7 separate regions of the Homo sapiens genome follow, and all the other regions are linked to region 5. The links are contacts of gene promoters, found by promoter capture Hi-C in blood cells and fetal thymus (Javierre and others, 2016). All regions are on one chromosome and are shown on one strand. Each heading gives the region's core, a stretch centred on a gene start or on the middle of the fragment in contact. The rest is flanking DNA. Distances are from core to core; before and after follow the strand shown. Region 1 has its middle 3.4 kb from the start of C6orf62. Region 2 overlaps ALDH5A1 (aldehyde dehydrogenase 5 family member A1). Region 3 holds the start of MRS2 (magnesium transporter MRS2). Region 4 overlaps MYLIP (myosin regulatory light chain interacting protein). Region 5 holds the start of E2F3 (E2F transcription factor 3). Region 6 has its middle 2.0 kb from the start of GMNN. Region 7 holds the start of TDP2 (tyrosyl-DNA phosphodiesterase 2).

Region 1 (2,700 bases), core at 1-2,500, 4.3 Mb after region 5:
GGGGCTCCCCGCCACTCCTTCCGCCCCCCTTCTTCAGGAAGTCCCAGTCTCCTGAGTTGGCTCTTCGCCCCGCCCCGATGTCGTCATAAAAGCACGCCCTCAACCATCCTCAACAAAACACCCGGATGGAGTCGCACTTCCCGAGTCTCGTCAGCCTCTCAGAGTCAGGCTGGGCGCGTGACAGAGCCGAACTAGCGACCTGGGCGGGCCAAAACTGCGGAAGTCGGCGGAGAGTGGGCGAGGGTAGGGGCGGAGCAAAGAAGGAAAAGGAAAGTGTGTGTTGGAGATTGGAAGATTCTTATTTCGATTCTTATAATTAGTTAGTCCTGGGGGTCGGCCCCGCGGTATCCTGCGGCAACAAACCTAGAACTCAATTCGACACCTGGAATTTAAACGGCGTGCGGGAGCAGATGTCTCATGTTAGTGCTACTTGCCTCTGTCCCCACCCCGCCACGTGCGCAGGCAGGGAGGGCGGTCCTCAAGCTTCGAACAAGGTCAAAGACGTTGTTCAGACGTTGCTGCTGTGGCTTAGGAGAGGAGCAGCCCAGTCTGACTCGTGGATTTTTACCCACTGCTGTCAGAACACACTTTCTGTTAGAATCCCCCAAGACCTCAGACCTACAGCCTGCCCCTTAGGTGGTTCACTGTCTTCATCGAAACGTTTGCCGCCGAGTCGCACGTCCTTGGCACCAAAAAGCGTTGAGTCCATTTTTCAAAGCTCTAATGTGCTCTTTAAAACACAGTTATGTAAGTACTTAGCAAAGGTCAATACTCCACATAAGCAATGCTTATATACTCATTGGCTACTCTGAGATTTTAGAAGTCCATTGGGACCCCAATTACTACTTTTCACTTCGTGAAGTCAAAACAGATCAGCTGTAATAACATTATTTCAGCCATGAGCCAAAAGAATAACTGGTACCCACCCTTCAATATAAATTGTCCAGAACCAAAGGATGAGTCCTGAGATTTCCAAATAACTTCTAATCTCGGAAGATACAGCTTGCATTTTGCTAGTGCTTTGCTGATTTGTTTTCAAAATCATGTAACTATGGAAAGCTCACAGAGATAAAACAGAAAATGTCACGTAGTTTAGAGCATTGGTTTAAAAAAGAAAGATTTTTAAAAGTAAGCCGAGCATGGTGGCTCACGCCTGTAATGCCAGCACTTTGGGAGACCGAGGCAGGCGGATCACCTAAGGTCAGGAGTTCGAGACCAGCCTGGCCAACATGGTGAAACCTCGTCTCTACTGAAAATACTAAAATCAGCCTGGCTTGGTGGCAGGCGCCTGCAGTCCCAGCTACTCGAGAGGCTGAGGCAGGAGAATCGCTTGAACCCGGGAGGCGGAGATTGCAGTGAGCCGAGATCGCACCATTGCACTCCAGCCTGGGCAACAGAGTGAGACTCCGTCGGAAAAAAAAAAAAAAACAAACAAACATATGAGACATACAAGCCAGTATGATCTTCAGGTGATCCGCCTGCCTCAACCTCCCAAAGTGTTGGGATTACAGGCATGAGCCACCATTCCCAGCCGGCTTATATGTTCTTGACCTGGCCTTGACTTGTATCCATGATCAACTTCATGGAAGAATTTTTAAAATAACAGCTTTATTGAAATATAATTCACATACCGTATTTATCTACTTGAAGTGTACAATCCAATGGTTTTTAATATATTCAGTGTTGTGCAGCCATTACATTACCCCAAAAAGAAACCCTGTACCTATTAGCAGTCACTTCTCTTCTTTCTAGTTTATGTTCTGTCTATAGATTTGCCGTTTCTGAAATTTCATATAAATGAAATCATTTAATATGTGGTCTTTTGTGACTGGCTTCTTCACTTAGCATAATGTTTTCAAGGTTCATCCATGTTGTAGCATGTATCAGTACTTAATTCCTTTTTATTGTGGAATAATATGTATTGTATGAAATTCTATATTCATTCATCAGTTGATGGACATTTGAGTTGTCTCTGCCTTTTGGCTGTTATAAATAATGCTGCTATGAACATTTACTTAAAAGCTTTTGTATAGACGTATGTTTTTAATTCTCTTGGGCATATACTTAAGAGTGGAATTACTGGGATATATGTTAACTCTATCTTTAACCATGTGAGAAACTGCCAGATGTTTTCCAAGTCTGTTGCATCATTTTACATTTCCTCCAGCAGTGTATTCCAATTTCTCCACATTCTTGTTATTATGTCTTTTTTAGTATAACCATCCTAGTGGGTATGATGTATGTCATGGTGGTTTTGATTTTCCTTTCCCCAACGATTAATGATGTTGAGCATCTTTTCATGTGCTTATTGGCTGTTCTAATATCTTCTTTGGAGAAATGTCTATTCAGAACTTTTGCCCATTTTTATTTATCTACTTGTTTATTTATTTATTTTTTGAGACAGAGTCTCGCTATGTTGCCCAGGCTGAAGTGCAGTGGCATTATCTCAGCTCACTGCAACCTCCGCTTCCTGGGTTCAAGCAGTTCTTCTGCCTCAGCCCCGAGTAGCTGGGCCCACAGGCCCCCACCACCATGCCCGGATGATTTTTGTATTTTTAGTAGAGACGGAGTTTCACCATGTTGGCCAGGCTCGTCTCAGACTCCTGACCTCAAGTGATCCACCCACCTCGGCCTCCCAAAGTGTTGGGATTACAGGTGTGAGCCACCAAGCTCGGCCTTTTACCCATTTTTAATTTAAAA
Region 2 (2,700 bases), core at 88-2,587, 4.1 Mb after region 5:
ATCTCCTCAGACACAGAACAGCCTTGAACAATTGGGGTCTCTGAGGCCAAGGGAAAGAAAGTAAGAAAATGTTGAGGAGGGTGGTGGCTGGAATAACTCAAAACCCTGTTGCCTGCTATGACCCAGTGGGGCCTCGCTGTCCCGAGATGGAGGGAGCCTCAGAGGTGCCCTCTACAGGGCACAGGCCCACGCCAGCAGTGTTTTAGAGGAGCATCCAGGCTGTCCTGGGAGACCAGAGGCCTGAGCTCATGTCTTCCTAGGAAATCCTGGAATATTTGATCTGTCAGGGACCTTCACAGTTATCAGCTCTACAAACGTTGCATTTTAGAGATGAGGAAATGAAACTCTAGAAAGAAAAAGTGACTTAGAGATCAGACGTCTTTGGGCCACAGTGTCAAATCTGCTGAGGAGCTGGGACTCTGAGCCAAGGCTCCTGTCTTCCAGTTCTATCCAAGCTGCTGCCAGGGTCCTGCCTTCTTAAATATTCTTAAGCATTCATCTTAAAAGTACCATCAATATGTAATTTTAAATGCATTCTAGAAACAGAGTAAATATCCCTGAAAGGTTATATTGTGAAAAAACTGAAATGTGTGATATTCTCTATCAAATAATTTTCATCCTTGCCTTGGCCTTTGGTAATTAAGTTTTTCCCTTCCACATAACCTAAATAAGCTTGGTTTTGTCTGAAATAAGTATATTTTCCTTCATAAATACAAAATGTCAATATATGTTACCATCAATTACACTGTAAGGCTACAACTTGGGGACAGGTATGGTGGCTCAGAACTGTAATCCCAGCATTTTGGGAGGCCAAAGCAGGAGGATCACTTGAGCCCAGGAGTTGGAGACCAGCCTGGGCAACAGAGTGAGACTCTGTCTCTACAATTTTTTTTTTTTTTTTTTTTTTTTTGTGTGACAGAGTCTCACTCTGTTGCCCAGGCTGAAGTGTAGTGGCATGATGTCAGCTCACTGCAACCTCCACCTCCCGGATTCAAGAGATTCTCCTGCCTCAGCCTCCTGAGTAGCTGGGACTACAGCTAATTTTTCTATTTTTAGTAGAGATGGGTTTCACTATGTTGGCCAGGCTAGTCTCGAACTCCTGACCTTAGGTGATCCACCCACCTCAGCCTCCCAAAGTGCTGGGGTTACAGGCATGAGCCACTGCGCCCAGCCAAAAAAAATTAAAAATTAGCTGGGCATGGTGGCAAGTGCCTATAGTCCCACCTACTTGGGAGGCTGAGGTGGAAGAATCACTTGAGCCCTGGAGGTCAAGGCTGCAGTGAACTCATCACTACTGCACTCCAGCCTGGGCGACAGAGCGAGACCCTGTGTCAGCAAAACAAAAGACTATAAGTTGGTGTTGGACCACATTCCTCTTAGCCTCTGCTGTTGCTGCAGCATCACAGTCTCCTAGGAGAATTGCACTCTTTCCCCACCCCCCAGGGAAACAAAATAAAAGCCATTTGAAAAAAACATGGATTGGGTGGCTTTTTTTTCTTTTCTTTCGTGTGTGTGTGTGTGTGTGTGTGTGTACAGGTGCTTATTGCCAACTAATCACTGATGCATAGCAGCTGTGTAGCATAGCAGCTGTGGAGGGAACTGGAGGGGAACATGCACTGACTCAGTGCTTTTATCTTTGGGGCCAAGCCCACGTGAGGAGGAAAATGGCAGTTTGAGCACATGACAACCACCGAGGGAAGTGTTTTCACAGAGAGGCGGTAGCAGCCACACGTTCACTGGTCAGGTCTGCAGCTTCTGACAGACTGTGTGGGTTTGTTTTTGTCTCCTGTCCAGACTTGTGTTTGCTCAAACCAATTCTTGGTGCAAAGGGGCATCCATGATGCCTTTGTAAAAGCATTCGCCGAGGCCATGAAGAAGAACCTGCGCGTAGGTAATGGATTTGAGGAAGGAACTACTCAGGGCCCATTAATTAATGAAAAAGCGGTAGAAAAGGTAAGTATATTGTATTATTTGTGAAAGTAAATTTCATGGTTTCAATATGAAAAGCTTAATCAGCAAAAAACACTTTGGCTGGAGGGGTGGGGATAGAGAGGGGTGGGTTGACAGAATATTACAGCTAGACAGAAGGAATAAGCTCTGGTGTTCTACAGCACTGTAGAATGACTGTAATTAGCAACAATGTATTGTATATTTTCAAATAGCTATTATTAGAAGAGTAGATTTTGAACGTTCCCAGTATAAAGAAATGATCAATGTTTGAGGCGATAGATGTGCTAACTATCCTGATTAGAGTATAGAGTATGAGAGATCTACATCTATACATGGAATCGAATGGAATTTTCAATGATGTTTTCATACAAAAACCACAAAGGTTAAAATAAGTAAAAAATTAATAATAGCTAAAAAAAATGATGTTAAAAGGCAAAAAAAAAAAATGAAAACAAAAAAGTCATTTTGGTAAAGTGCCCAGCAAGCCTATTTTGTAAACAATGGAGAAACCTGAGAAAAGTGAATTCTGCCTACCAGTTATATGAATCGGGTTGTTGTCTGGTCATGAGCTGCTATAGCCCTGCCATTGCACCAAGTCCCCATGCGGTCTGTCACTGTAGCTCTTTACTGTCCTCCCTAAATTTTGTTATAGTGATGATAATTCTATCCCTCACTGCCTCAGCAATTAGGATCTTGAGACAAAGTTCATTCATCTTTTGGAACACCTATGGAATGGAAGACTGGCTTGGT
Region 3 (2,700 bases), core at 1-2,500, 4.0 Mb after region 5:
CCAGCAATTCTTATGCCTCAGCCTTACAAGTAGCTGGGATTACAGGCACCTGCAACCACACCCGGCTAATTTTTGTATTTTTAGTAGAGACGGGTTTTGCCATGTTGGCCAGGCTGGTCCTGAACTCCTAACCTCAAGTGGTCCACAACATTGGCCTCCCAAAGTGCTTGGCTCCCAAAGTGCTGGATTACAGGCATGAGGCACCACGCCCGGTGGCATGTTGAGTCTTTGAATTAAAGGAAATTAAAAGGGTCTCAGAAAGAAGCCTAAAAATCAAGGCCTCTCTCTCTCACCTTCCCCCTTCCTTTTGTCTCTCTGATACTCTTACTTTTTCCAAGCACCTGAAGGGGCTCTCTTTTCCTGCACAGCCAGATAAGGAATTTCCTTATCTGACAGAGAAAACTCTTTTCCAAAGAAATGCAATTGTCTTAAAACCCGTTCCTTAGGAATCGCATTAAATAATCAGAAGAGATTAATCACCCAGAGAAGAGACAAAAACTGAAAGTCATAGCCACACTGAGACTTTTCATAGATACTTCTGAGGGTAGCTCCAAGAGATTACCTGGGAAACTTTACCTGTATAATAGGACAATTTTTGTTCAGAGTGAAGTTTCACAGCTTGTCCACAAGCGATTGTTTGTACTTCTGTCCCACTGAATGTCCAAGGAGAATCATTTGCAAACCACTGTCTGGCTTTCGGGCCCATTCATACCTATCTCCCTCTACTCAACAAAGAAGGGTATACAAGCATCTGGACCTTAATTGAGTTATTGAGTAATCACTCTTCTGTGATTTTTCCCTATGCACGTTAAGCAAATTTTGTATGCCTTTTTCTCCTGCTAATCTGTCTACTTAGTTCATTCCAGCAACTTTCAGAGGGCAAAAGTAGGAGCTTTCCCTCTTGCTCCCTACACCACGTTAAATTTAAATATAAATTAAATGATGTGGGAATGGGTAACCTGCTCATTTCCAAACTGCAATTTTCATAGGTATGAAAATTCTCCACAAACTACAAAACCATGACACTCCAAGCGCCCAAGAACCTAGGTTGGACAGCTCACTTAGTGCAGGTAAACGTGCTCCACCCATCTCCCAGCCCGCCTGCCCCCTCACTTAGGTACAGGTGCAGGTACAGGTAGGCAAGCAAACGTCTATTGGCTGTGGACTTAACAGGCTCGCCCACAGGTACCTTCCGAGCATGCGTGGGGAAGTAGCACGCAGGCGCGGCACGCCCCGCGCATGCCTGGTGCACAGAGTCTGCAGGTCGGGCGGTAGCGACAGGTCAGAGCTGCGGCCTGAGCAGCCAGCGTCCGGCATGAAGGTCTGGGGTCTGGCTGCTGCCTGCTTCTTGCTCCAGCACCATGGAATGCCTGCGCAGTTTACCCTGCCTCCTGCCCCGCGCGATGAGACTTCCCCGGCGGACGCTGTGTGCCCTGGCCTTGGACGTGACCTCTGTGGGTCCTCCCGTTGCTGCCTGCGGCCGCCGAGCCAACCTGATTGGAAGGAGCCGAGCGGCGCAGCTTTGCGGGCCCGACCGGCTCCGCGTGGCAGGTACTGCCCTTCCCCGGCAACAGCCTTGGGACGCTGGTCTTGCAGTGACCTTAGACTGCTGCCCCAGCCGTCCGGCGCGGCGCGCCTGTTGCTCCGCGCCCTCCGCAGGCCTCGGCCTCCCGCGTGTCCTGTGAGCTTGCACAGGCCCGCGGGCCGAGCTGCGTCCCACTCGCTCAGAATGCGACCTTGCTATGTGCGCTGTGCCCTGCCGGGGTCCCAGCGGCCAACCCTCTGCCTTCTCCTCCACCGCCCTTGCTGCAGATTATGTAACCATAGGAACAACCTAGGAATCGTTTACAGACCGTGATCACGTTAGTTAACACCCGCTTAAGTGCTCTTGTAAGAGGTTTTTTCTGTGTTGTTTTTGAGACAGGGTCTTACTATGTTGCCCAGGCTGGACTCAAACTCCTTGCCTCGAGCCATCCTAACGCATTAGCCTCGCAAAGCGCTGGGATTACAGGCGTGAGCCACCACACCTGGCCGAGAGGTGTTTTTAAACAAGGATTTCATCTGTTCGGAAGTCATAAGTATAAATTAATACTTCCCTGTTTTCTGTTTCTTCGTTATGGACACATTTATACAGTTGTCCAGTTGCACGGAGATTGGGGACGCACCTAGAAGTGAGGCTAAAGACTGAGTTGTTTCTGAGAACGACTTACTTTCAACTACAGTACTCTATAAGTAAACAGCCAGGGAGATCGGATTGAGAAAAAAAAATCTTATTTGCTGTTTATTTTTTCACCAAATGTTGAAGCATGGTGAAAAGTTAAGATTTTCACAAATGTGAGTGCAAATATTTGAGGAATAAAAGGTATTGAAATGAATGACTTTATTAAGAACATAGCAGTGTCCTCAAATATGTTTTCTCAATTGTGCTCTCAAAAGCCTCCCAAAGTAACTCCTCGTCAGCACCTCATTCTCCACTTATTGGAGAGGCTAAGTTGGGTTACATGCTCTGCACCCTCAATTGATAATGCTTGGGAATCCAGTTTCAGCAAGTTGGAGGAAACTTTTAGGACAAGCATTGACGTTCACAATCTCAATCCCGGTTACACTCTAATTTGTGACATTAAAACATTGAAAGGCATTTGTAATCAGCAAATGCCTTTTACCTTTATTCATCTTACCCTTATAGTGATAATTTGTATT
Region 4 (2,700 bases), core at 1-2,500, 4.3 Mb before region 5:
GCAGCGGGGGTCCCCAGCGCTGAGGGCCGGGCGCAGCCCGCAGCCGGGATCCACCCCCCAGCGCCCCATCATCCCCCCAACCCAGCACTTTCCCGGAAGAAGGCGGCTCCGCACACCTGCCGCAGGTATGTGCGTGATGCCGCCTGTCGGGTCCCCGCGGCGCCTGGCAGTGCCACCCGCGTGCCAGGATGGGATGGAGTGGCTCGAAGCAGTCTCGGGCCCCAGGGGTTCTTGGCAGACAAGCCGGGCCCTTGTCTCACGCTGCTTCTCAGGCTGCTGCTCTCAAATGCACCGTTCACCTGCATCTCCGGGTTTGCGGGGGACGGGAGGAATAGGTTTGGGTCATCTACTGCTCGGTTGTTTTTAAGCATGTGTTTCCTTAACAGTGAGGGAGATCGGTGCCAAATAGTGCAGAGGTGGTATGGCAGACAGCACATGTGATCCCAGGAAAACGCTGTGCCCTCAACCCCTCTAGCTCTGAGATGTTTGGAAAACCGCTTGTGAAGCTTAGCTGACACTTGTGGCGTGTTCCCTCAATGTGTTTGATTTTTGGAGTCCAAATGGTTAAAATTGCCCAGATAATAAGTCGCCAAAAATCAGCTGTGCAGAGTATGCTGGTGGAGGGAATTCCGGTGATTGGAATACGAAGGAAAATACCCTGTAGTTTCCCCTCCTCATCTTTTGGAAGGCTACTTTTGAGGACTCCTTTTTTCTCTATTGCAATTGGTCATGCCCTAGACGTTAAAAGGAATTATGAGCCTCCATACTAGAGCTCGTGGTTTGGTATCATTGGAGCCGTGGAACTTTGTTTTTCCAGTTTAGATCAGGAATTGTAACACCATTGAACTTTGTAAAAAGCACCAGCAATCTTAGCCTCAGGGAGCCGTTGGGTTTGCTTTGATACGTACCATTTGCTCATCCAGGCTGCATTCCTTTTTGTTTTAGGTGTGCAGGCGACTGGGAATCATAGAAGTTGACTATTTTGGACTGCAGTTTACGGGTAGCAAAGGTGAAAGTTTATGGCTAAACCTGAGAAACCGGATCTCCCAGCAGATGGATGGGCTAGCCCCTTACAGGCTTAAACTTAGAGTCAAGTTCTTCGTGGAGCCTCATCTCATCTTACAGGAGCAGACTAGGTAAAGTGAGCTAAAATAAACCAATGTCAAATTGACCTTTGGTTCCCTTTAGAAGGGCCGCTGCACCTTCCCAGAGATACTCACAGGCAAGTTTGTTTTGATGCGGAGTTCCATCTTAACTTAGGTTTTCCATGCAGGTCCTTTTGTTGAGGTGGAGGGGGAGCTACCTACTTGGTCTGAGTGCATTTTCCAATCCTTCTTTTAGTTTTTCTTGTCTTTATAAACTTGATGGGTGAGCAGGGTTGAATTCTTACAAACACTTGAGATAAGTGCTACCCCAGGAAAAAAAAAAAAAAAAAAAGAAACCACCCTACCCGAGTGACTGACTTCCTGATAGCAGCATCTAATGCCCGATAGTAACCTCTGCCTCAGCAGTGTTACTATAGGTCATTGCAGACTGTTCTAACAGAAAGCAGGAAACAGTTCCTCTTGGGTTACTTAAACTTGGTCAGTTTCTTCAGCCTAGTGTCAGATTACAGTGTGCAGCCAAGAGCTCTGTTTGACTTCATGCAGAATTTTTAAAGTTTTTAAGTTTCTTGAAAATGTAATTTCATGAACTCTTCTAAGGCTACTGTAACTGAATTCCAACCCACAGATATGTTACACACGATTGGTGAGTATAGATTGAATTTATCTCTCTACGTTGTAAAACACCACCAACAGTGGTAGACAACTGAAGCATGTGGTCTCATTTTTCAAACAAAATATGTTCTCCCCTGGACTGACTCTAATACTTGATTCTCAAGAATGAGCCAAACTAGGAAATTGATATTTAATATTTATTGAAAGGCAGGAGACTTCAATCTTACAGTGGCATATCAAAAAATTAAAAAGGAAAACAGCTACTTTGAAGACATAGCAAGCTTTGGATCTAAGTTCTAATGTTTTTCATAATTCTTTGGCTGAGAAATTTGCCATGCATATGAAAAATGTGATTCTAAAAATTTTAAGTAATGATGAATGAGCATTATCCTTTAAGAGTTTTTTACATGACATTTGCTTGTTTGTTTTACCAAAGGACTGATAAAGACTCATTTTGAAATACTTATCATTTGAATTTGAAATTTCCACTTTGCCTTGTAATCGAGCTTTAAAGGTTGAGGCAGACGTTTAATTTTGTTTCTGAATGAAGATGGTATATTGAGTTCTTGGTACTCCTGAAAATATCTTGCAAAATATTCAAGTGATTGCATGCTTAAGGATGTTTTAGCTGTCTGTATTAATCAGAATAGACTTTTTAAAATTATTATTTAAAGCCGATTTGTGAAAGCTTTGCGCTTCACTGTCATAACTTGCAGTCGAATACAAGATATAACACAACATATTGGAATTTTCATTGTGTAGTCCTATTATGATTTTGTAATTATTTCAAGATCTCTAGATGCAACCCAGTTTTGATGGCACAAAATTATTTTTTAAATCTTCAGAAGCTTGGAGTACCAAATAACTGCATTTAAACAATGGCTGCAGTGATAATAGCATAATACATTTGTTTTATGAATGTATTCAGACTTTATAATTGACTAGTAGATGGTCTCTACCTGTGCTTTCCTGTAATTGGGTT
Region 5 (2,700 bases), core at 167-2,666:
TGATCTGACACATCTTGTCAGGTGTTTCATAGCACTCTGAGTAAGAGTTTTGGGAAATTAATAATAGTAATAAAAATCTTGTGAAAGGGCTCAAGGTGTTGCAATCCTCATCACCTATGAGCACCAATTCTGCAGCTGTTTTGCACGTAACTATAAATTATGATCTAGTCTCTACATACATAACTTCCCCCACATTCCTGCAGGGGTCTCTTTTCCTGCTCAATCTCAGGAGCAAGCTTTAATTTTAAGACCCATGAATACTTGAACAAATTCAGGAGTCAGTTTGACACATCATTTTATATTTTTCTGATGACAATTTCTAGTTTACTTTTTAAAAAAAGACACTATTTTAAAAATACTTTGGGATAGGTTTGAGTCGTTGTGTTTGCTTCCAGTCAGAGAACTTCCTACAAAACTGAAGATATAAAGTGCTGATGCCTGGGCGTGCCTGCGTTCGTTGGGGGCACGACGTCATCGTGGGAAGCGTGTACTTTTTCGGATTACTGCTTGGCGGATTAGAAACCCGTAGATCAGTTCTAGGTTAGCCCTGATTAACTGCCCTGGGTGTTTCTGGGCCAGAGGGAATGTCTGCTGGATTCAAACCAATATCCGTTGTAAGACAAAAGAGTTAATTTGTACTTTACCCCTATCCAGGCTAATAATGAAGGTACCGGGAATGATCTGGAATGTTAACTGGTGCCCGCAATCGCGTCTGCTGAACCTTCTGCCCCCACGATTCTGTCTGCCCACATGCTTCTGTCTATCAGCCCCGGCCTCGGGATCAGCTCTCGCCGCGTCATTGGTTGGATTTCAGGAAGGGAGAAGCCCACGATTTAAAGGGCTCCTTTTGCACCTGCCAGACATCGTCCGCATGGTCCAACTTGCCTTTGGCACGTATCTGGAAAAATCTCCTGCGCTGTTCGTTTATTGCACTGACTGGTCAAAGGAAAGAGTGTTCCCTTAGTCACCTTGACAATTTCCAAAAGCGAAACTTGGGCTCTAGACTAGATCTACACTGAGTCTGCGGGGCGCGGAGTCCCTGCCCAGGTCAGTAGCGCCGGCCCGGCGGGCGGGCGGGGACAGGGGCGGAGCCTAGGCCAGGCGTGGTCTTCCGTGGGAGAGAAGGAAATTCTTTGCCCCACCCCCTAAAAACTGCTCTTCTGCCAGCCAATCAAGGAGGCCTATGCAAATAGGGTCCCTGTCGCCCCGGTAACCATGATGCACGGCAGCCAATGGAAACCAGCAAGTCGCGGCCCTGCTCCATGATTGGGACTGAAGTAAGGAGGTAGCGGCCCAATGGGCTGTGGGAACGGTCCTCGGCGGGTTGAGGGGCGGGGATATGCAAATATGGTTTGAAAAGCCGGCGGGAAATCCGAGTTTCGCGGGAGGACCTTGGCGCGTAAACCGTATCCCTTCATTCATTGTCAGCAGCAGCTTCCTGGAGCCATTTTTCAGCTGCCGGCCGCAGCACCCGGGCTGCCGCCGCCGCCTCGCAATCCGTTGCATCGGCCGCCCCCGACGCCTCCATCCCCGCTTGGGGCCCGATATCCGTGCGGCCGGGACCCTCCTCTCTCCAGAGCCCCGATTATTTTTGGCCCCCGGGGCCTGTGCGGTGCGGAAAAATAAAAAGAAAAGAGAGAGAGGGGGCTCGGAAGCGCCGGGCGGGGAGGAGAGAAGGAGGAGAGACTTGGAAACTCCGACTGCAAATAATAAAGAAATTGAAAACAATACATTAATATACCATAACACTAAAAAGAGCAGGAGCGAGAGATGAGAAAGGGAATCCAGCCCGCTCTGGAGCAGTACCTGGTGACCGCCGGGGGTGGGGAGGGGGCGGCTGTCGTCGCCGCCGCCGCTGCAGCCTCCATGGACAAAAGGGCACTGCTAGCCAGCCCCGGCTTCGCCGCCGCCGCCGCCGCTGCCGCCGCCCCGGGCGCGTACATCCAGATCCTCACCACGAACACTTCCACCACCTCCTGTTCCTCCTCCCTCCAAAGCGGCGCCGTAGCCGCCGGCCCCCTCCTCCCCAGTGCCCCCGGCGCGGAGCAGACCGCCGGCAGCCTCCTCTACACCACGCCGCACGGACCCTCCAGCAGAGCCGGGCTGCTGCAGCAGCCACCAGCGCTGGGACGCGGCGGCAGCGGCGGCGGCGGCGGCCCTCCGGTAATACCCTCCCTCCCCACCGTCCCCAGCCCCGGCGGGAGGTGGGCTCGCACCGCGCGGGGTCGTGGGCGCGCTGCGGGCCGCTCGGGGAGAGCACTGGGCCGAGCATCGTGGGCCTCGGGGGCTGCCCCTCCAACGAGGGTTCATTGTTAGACCTGAGTGCTCTTCCCGGCGCCAGGAGGGTCGGGGGGCTCGGCCAGGCGCGCGGGGCGGCGGGGATTGCCTTGGCGCGAACCACATCAAACACTCCAAAACTTTTCGCGGCCCCCCCTTCTTTTCCTGCACTTTTCCCTACCCCCACTCTCCCTTCCCCTCCAACTCGAAGCTTCCTCTTTCTCGGGCGTAGGAAGGGGTCACGCCCCGGATGGAGAAGGGGGTGGGGGAGGGAGTAGTGAACTGGGGTGTGGGGGGCTCTGAGGGGTTGAAACCGGGGGACTGTTGGGGTGCTAGCCCCCAGTCGGCCTTGGAGGCTCGTTGGCGGCCGGGGGTCCCTGCGGCGTGCTCGGAGCGCAGGGGATCGGCGGGGCTGCGCTTGAC
Region 6 (2,700 bases), core at 52-2,551, 4.4 Mb after region 5:
AGAATTCATTTCTTTGGAGACATAATACTCATGGCCGCTTGCTTCTTCAAGGCCAGTAAGAGATACATCAAAAAAAGTCTAAGCCCTCTGTTGAAGGACATCCTAATGATTACGTCAAGGCCAACAGGATAATCTCACTTTCGATAATTTAAAGTATACCGATTTGGGGCCTTAATTACAATTATAAAATCCCACCACCTTTGCCTTATTGAATAACCTAATCATAGGCATAATCAGAGGTCAGAGATAATGGGTGGCATTTTAGAATTCTATCTACTGTAAGTATGTTGTCAAGCTTTTCTATAGCTGCTAGTCTGATAGTTGAAATAGTTTTTCAGAGTTTTAATTTGCATGTCTCTTATTCTCAGTAAAGTTGAGCATGGTTTTGTATGTTTAAGGACCATTCCTCTATCGTTTTCTCTGAACCGTCCATTCCTGTCTTTTGCCGATTTATCTATTGGGCTGTTGGCTTCTCCCTCTCAATGTTTTATAGCTCTTTAAAAATTAGGGAATGTAGTCTTTTATGTGTAAAAGAAATTCCCTATATTTTCTCTTACTTTATCATTTGTCTTTGCTTATGGAAATCATCCGATTTTTAAAATACAGACAATTTCCATTTTAAGACAATGTGTAGGCCACAATTGTGTATGTGAAACAAAACATATTTAATGCCCAGGGGCCACCTTCTAGACCATCTTCAATCCTTTAAATAATTCTGCACTAAAATAATCCCCTGAAGATCCTGAGTATATTATTCTTTTTTTTTTTCTTTTTGTTTGAGACGTAGTCTCACTCTGTCGCCCAGGCTGGAGTGCAGTGGCGCGATCTCCGCTCACTGCAAGCTCTGCCTCCTGGGTTCACGCCGTTCTCCTGCCTCAGCTTCCTGAGTAGCTGGGACTACAGGCACCTGCCACCATGCCCGGCTAACTTTTTTTTGTGTTTTTAGTAGAGATGGGGTTTCACCATGTTAGCCAGGATGGTCTCGATCTCCTGACCTCGTGATCCACCCGCCTCGGCCTCCCAAAGTGCTGGGATTACAGGGTGAGCCACTGCACCCGGCCAATCCTGAGTATATTATTCTTAACATCATCTGAGTCTCAAGTCCCAAAACCTTCATTAGTAATGTGTTTCATCATTTCACTTCTCTTAGCTGTGCTTATACTCATCAAAGAAATGGTTTGTCAAAAAATAAATTGGTGCAATGTAATTATTATTTATCCATCTGAATAAAAATAAAAATAAAAAAATTGGTGTAAATATTTGTGGTTGCTAAAGTTTTGTTTTGTTTTGTTTTGTTTTGTTTTTGAGATAGAGTCTCACTCTGTCACCTGGGCTAGATTGTGGTAGTGTGATCTTGGCTTACTGCAACCTCCACCACCTGGGTTCAAGCTATTCTCCTGCCTCTGCCTCCTGAGTAGCTGGGATTACAGACGCATGCCACCATGCCTGGATAATTTTTGTATTTTTAGTAGAGACAGGGTTTCACCATGTTGGCCAGGTTGGTCTTGAACTCCTGACCTCAGGGTGATCCGCCAGCCTCAGCCTCCCAAAGTGCTGGGATTACAGGCATGAGCCATGGTGCCTAGTGGTTGCTGAAATTTTTATGGCTAAACATTTTCCAGTATTTCTACCTCCTTATCCCATCATTTAATCCTTTTTAAATTAATATTTTAAAAATTTTATTATTGGCCAGGTGCAGTGGTTCACGCCTGTAATCCCAGCACTTTGGGAGGCCAAGGTGGGCAGATCACACGATCAGGAGTTCAAGACCAGCCTGGCCAACATAGTGAAACCCTGTCTCTACTAAAACTACAAAAAATTAGCTGGGTGTGGTGGCGGGCACCTGTAATCCCAGCTACTTGGGAGGCTGAGGCAGGAGAATCGCTTGAACCCGGGGGGGGCAGAGGTTGCAGTAAGCCGAGGTTGCACCATTGCACTCCAGCCCTGGTGACAGTGCAAGACTCCGTCTCAAAAAAAAAAATTATTATTGAAAATCCCAAACAGATATAAAAGTAGAGGGAGTGAATAAAAAATCTTCATGTACTCATCCATACTAGCCTCAGCAGTTATCAACACAAGGCCAATACTGTTTTATTCGCACCAGTGGTTCTCAACTGGGGATGATTTTGCCCTGCGGAAGGTTATCTGACAAGGTCTGCAGACATTTTTGGTCTTCACAATTGGGATGTACTCCTGGTAGCTAGAGGGTAGAGGCCAGGGATACTGCTAAACAGCATACAATGCCCAGGACAGCCCCCACCACGAACAATTTGCCCAGTCTAAAATGTCAATAGAGCCCATACTGAGAAAGCTTGATTTATACCTTTTCCCTTGCTTCTCTCAATAATTATTTCAAATAAAATATATGGTATAAAATTTCATCTGTAATTACCATTTATAGGTAGAAGCTATTACAATAAAACCCACAATATTGTCATTACAACTAATCTCTTTTTTTAACCCATTGCTCATCAGGTAACCTTAAACAACTCATATCTTACCATCCCAAAATATTCAGTCAGTGTTCAAATTTCCCTTGGGTATTTTTTTAAATACAGTGTTTAGTTCAGACGAGATCCATACATTGCATTTGGTAATATGTCCCTTATTTGTACTCGATAACGCCTTCCTTCTGCTTTTTATTTTTAAAATATTTTAAAATTAATTTTTTTTTGAGACAGGGTCTCCCTTTGTCTGTAG
Region 7 (2,700 bases), core at 17-2,516, 4.3 Mb after region 5:
GGAAATTAACAATGTACAAAACAGATACTCCTTACTAGATGTGCAGTCTAGTAGGAGACATAAAATAATGAACAGCAATTATAATACGGACTAAGGTATTGTAACAGGGGTCATGCAGGATGCTATAAGAGTACCTAAAAGGGGACTCTTACCCAGACTTAGGACATCAGGAAAAGCTTCCTAGAGATAAATCATGTCTCAGCTTGGGGCTTTAAGACAAATATTAGCAAGGAAGGGAAAAGAAAAAAATTCCAGGCACAGGTAATAAAGATCTTTACGAAGTTTCAAAGACAGGAGAAAATGACCCGTTGGAAAAAAGTAAAAGTTTGATAGGCCTGGAACCTGGAAAGGCAGGTTCTAAGTTATGGAGCCAAATAGTAGAGGGCCTTGTAAGGCAGCTACACTTTTTAAGTGCAGGAACTGGAGAGGGGCACTGAAATAACAGGAGTAGGTGTGCATTAAAAAAAAATAACAACAACAACAAACCTGTTATTCTGGCCGGTCAGCCTAGGGCCTAGAATAAATAAACAATACAGGAAGCAAGGAGACTTCCAAGTTGCCATTTTTCGATAGAAGGTTTAGCCTTCGTTCATTTGTTTCAAACCTCTCGCTTACTTATTTCCTTTCATTTGAGTTAAACATTACATTTCCATCTTTTCCTCCCTGGACCCCAAATCACGTTCGAAGCGACAGTCTGGTGCAGTGTTAGATCCGCTGCTGGGGCGCAACTCCGCGCAGCAGCAGCAACGCAAGCCCTGCTCCTCTGGCTACGCAGCTTGGAGATCTGCCTCAGCATCGTCCGCCCAGCTCCACGGCAGGTCCCAGGACGCGCAGGGCTACCTGGTATCAAACTGCCTCCGTGCGGACTGGCTCCCGCTCCCCTCATCACTTACTAGGTCTTGGGCTCAGAGATGGTTTCAGGTCGGCGTTCCAAGGCGCTCTCCTCCACCGGAGGCTCGAAGTAGGAGTTCAGAGCCCTCTGAAAAACAAAGGCACAAGGGATGAGGTTTGTGCGCTCCACCGACCTAGGTAATGGAGCCGGAAGCGAGGACAGCGAAAGCGTACTTCCATCTCCCAGTCGTTCTCGGCCAGGAAGCACTGAGCCACTGCGGCATCGCAGCTTGCGACCGAGGCAAACTCCACACACAGAAGTCGCCGCTTTTTCACCTCAGGCTCGCCCTCTTCCTCCGCCGCCTCCCTCCCGCCCTCCAGGCAACTCCCCAACTCCATCTTCCTGCCGCCTCTGCACCGCCCCTTTAAGCGGAACAGGAGGCCAACGCGCGGCTCTGCGCAGGCGCCTGTGTCATGGCGCTCCCGCATCAACCGCCCGGCGGGGAAATGCGCTGCTCTCGGAAAACTGGTGCAGCTGCGCCGCAAGGGAGCCGCCGGGGCGGTGGGTGCGAAGCGCGCATGCGCGCTTCGTCACAAGGGTGCGAGGAAAGTCAGTGAGCAAATCGCGGACCACCGGGGCTGCCAGCTCGCCTGACTCCCGGCCTCTTGCGCTCCTAGGGGCGGAGAAGGGTGCGGGCTCTTCGCCCTTTGTGTCCTCCTTCTTTCACTAACTTCTGGACTTTCCAGCTCTTCCGAAGTTCGTTCTTGCGCAAAGCCCAAAGGCTGGAAAACCGTCCACGATGACCAGCATGACTCAGTCTCTGCGGGAGGTGATAAAGGCCATGACCAAGGCTCGCAATTTTGAGAGAGTTTTGGGAAAGGTATGGGAAAGGTAGGGGAGAAGCCGTGGCTTCTAATGAAGGAAAAGAAAGCACCGTGCTTGGTGCCGTTGTGAGCTTTGAATAATTATCTCTTGTTAGGTTGTGTTCTAGTACGCCTGTAAATTCACCTTAGTAATAATGATTATTACTTTAATGGAGCCCCTAAATATGCTGGGTCGAACGCGTAAGTTCTCTATCTAAACATAGATAAGTATGGTTATGACTCGTGGAGACAGTTCCAAGGCTGGGAGGGACTTTGGAGTTTGATCCTTCAACCAACAAACGTCTGCATTGCTCCAGAGAAGAGTAAGAGAAACCTCTGCATTTAAGGCACATTACAGTCTAATTCTCTAGGCTCTAGAAGATTAGAAGATAAATAATTGCAATAAGGTACAAAAGCCAAGTGCTTGGTAGAGTGGTGAACGAAGGGAGAAGTTGTTCCTCTGTAGTGGTTTGGGAAATTTCTCAAAGGCACCCAACTCCTGAAGAAGTAAGTTAGCCCTTGGAGGAAGACTGAGTGCTTTTCTGAGACCAGCACTCACAAAGCCCGAAGGTGTTTGTTTGTTTTTGTTTTTTTAGGATGAGGTTTCGCCCTTGTTGCCTAGGCTGGAGTGCAATGGCGCGATCTCGGCTCACTGCAACCTCCACCTCCCTGGTTCAAACAATTCTCCTGCCTCACTCAGCCTCCCGAGTGGCTGGGATTACAGGCATGCGCCACCATGCCCAGCTAATATTGTACTTTTAGTAGAGACAGGGTTTCTCCATGTTGGTCAGGCTGCTCTCGAACTCCCGACCTCAGGTGAAACGCCTGCCTCCGCCTCCCAAAGTGCTGGGATTACTGGTGTGAGCCGCCACGCCAGACCTTGAAGGTGTTTGTTGTTGTTGTTGTTTTGAGATGGAGTCTTGCTCTGTTGCCCATGCGGGAGTGCAGTGACACGATCTCGGCTCACTGCAACCTCCGCCTCCTGGGTTCAAGTGATTCTCATGC

The links. The method cuts DNA at HindIII sites, captures the fragments that hold promoters and counts their contacts. A CHiCAGO score of 5 or more calls a contact.
Region 1: a fragment that was not itself captured here is called in contact with the fragment with the promoter of E2F3 in region 5 in 1 of 17 cell types (fetal thymus); the score reaches 19.6 in fetal thymus.
Region 2: a contact is called between a fragment that was not itself captured here and the fragment with the promoter of E2F3 in region 5, in 2 of 17 cell types (fetal thymus and total B cells). The highest score is 9.8, in fetal thymus.
Region 3: a contact is called between the fragment with the promoter of MRS2 here and the fragment with the promoter of E2F3 in region 5, in 3 of 17 cell types (M0 macrophages, M1 macrophages and M2 macrophages). The highest score is 7.4, in M0 macrophages.
Region 4: a contact is called between a fragment that was not itself captured here and the fragment with the promoter of E2F3 in region 5, in 1 of 17 cell types (total CD4 T cells). The highest score is 6.2, in total CD4 T cells.
Region 6: a contact is called between a fragment that was not itself captured here and the fragment with the promoter of E2F3 in region 5, in 1 of 17 cell types (fetal thymus). The highest score is 9.7, in fetal thymus.
Region 7: the fragment with the promoter of TDP2 here is called in contact with the fragment with the promoter of E2F3 in region 5 in 4 of 17 cell types (fetal thymus, M0 macrophages, M1 macrophages and 1 more); the score reaches 16.3 in fetal thymus.

The regions. Positions count from the first base shown.
Region 1 is chr6:24,721,178-24,723,877 of GRCh38, forward strand. No RefSeq gene overlaps it. Among named protein-coding and RNA genes, the nearest start is that of C6orf62, 3.4 kb to the left of the region's middle. RefSeq lists enhancers at 1-500, 246-1,039, 631-680, 731-820. The HindIII fragment of the contact is 1,539 bases long and covers 482-2,020 here.
Region 2 is chr6:24,520,973-24,523,672 of GRCh38, forward strand. It overlaps ALDH5A1 (aldehyde dehydrogenase 5 family member A1), which reads left to right. Exons shown (of 10, transcript NM_001080.3): 7 at 1,795-1,953. Among named protein-coding and RNA genes, the nearest start is that of ALDH5A1, 27 kb to the left of the region's middle. RefSeq lists silencers at 63-112, 1,482-1,531. The HindIII fragment of the contact is 1,335 bases long and covers 671-2,005 here.
Region 3 is chr6:24,401,686-24,404,385 of GRCh38, forward strand. MRS2 (magnesium transporter MRS2) reads left to right here and starts at 1,251. Exons shown (of 11, transcript NM_020662.4): 1 at 1,251-1,551. The coding sequence starts at 1,362. RefSeq lists a silencer at 1-130 and an enhancer at 1,888-2,622. The HindIII fragment of the contact is 7,340 bases long and covers 1-2,700 here.
Region 4 is chr6:16,129,612-16,132,311 of GRCh38, forward strand. MYLIP (myosin regulatory light chain interacting protein) reads left to right here. Exons shown (of 7, transcript NM_013262.4): 2 at 946-1,136. Among named protein-coding and RNA genes, the nearest start is that of MYLIP, 1.9 kb to the left of the region's middle. RefSeq lists a silencer at 1-156. The HindIII fragment of the contact is 1,493 bases long and covers 505-1,997 here.
Region 5 is chr6:20,400,463-20,403,162 of GRCh38, forward strand. It overlaps E2F3 (E2F transcription factor 3), which reads left to right and starts at 1,417. Exons shown (of 7, transcript NM_001949.5): 1 at 1,417-2,163. The coding sequence starts at 1,771. LOC124901482 reads right to left here and starts at 2,310. Exons shown (of 3, transcript XM_047419652.1): 1 at 1,963-2,310; 2 at 1,807-1,918; 3 at 279-1,700. The coding sequence starts at 2,310. The coding sequence ends at 1,093. RefSeq lists silencers at 992-1,231, 2,082-2,551 and an enhancer at 1,330-1,854. The HindIII fragment of the contact is 2,252 bases long and covers 235-2,486 here.
Region 6 is chr6:24,771,549-24,774,248 of GRCh38, forward strand. No RefSeq gene overlaps it. Among named protein-coding and RNA genes, the nearest start is that of GMNN, 2.0 kb to the right of the region's middle. The HindIII fragment of the contact is 2,016 bases long and covers 294-2,309 here.
Region 7 is chr6:24,665,633-24,668,332 of GRCh38, forward strand. TDP2 (tyrosyl-DNA phosphodiesterase 2) reads right to left here and starts at 1,267. Exons shown (of 7, transcript NM_016614.3): 1 at 1,066-1,267; 2 at 894-979. The coding sequence starts at 1,230. ACOT13 (acyl-CoA thioesterase 13) reads left to right here and starts at 1,445. Exons shown (of 3, transcript NM_018473.4): 1 at 1,445-1,712. The coding sequence starts at 1,632. RefSeq lists enhancers at 313-985, 986-1,657, 1,189-1,483. The HindIII fragment of the contact is 8,130 bases long and covers 175-2,700 here.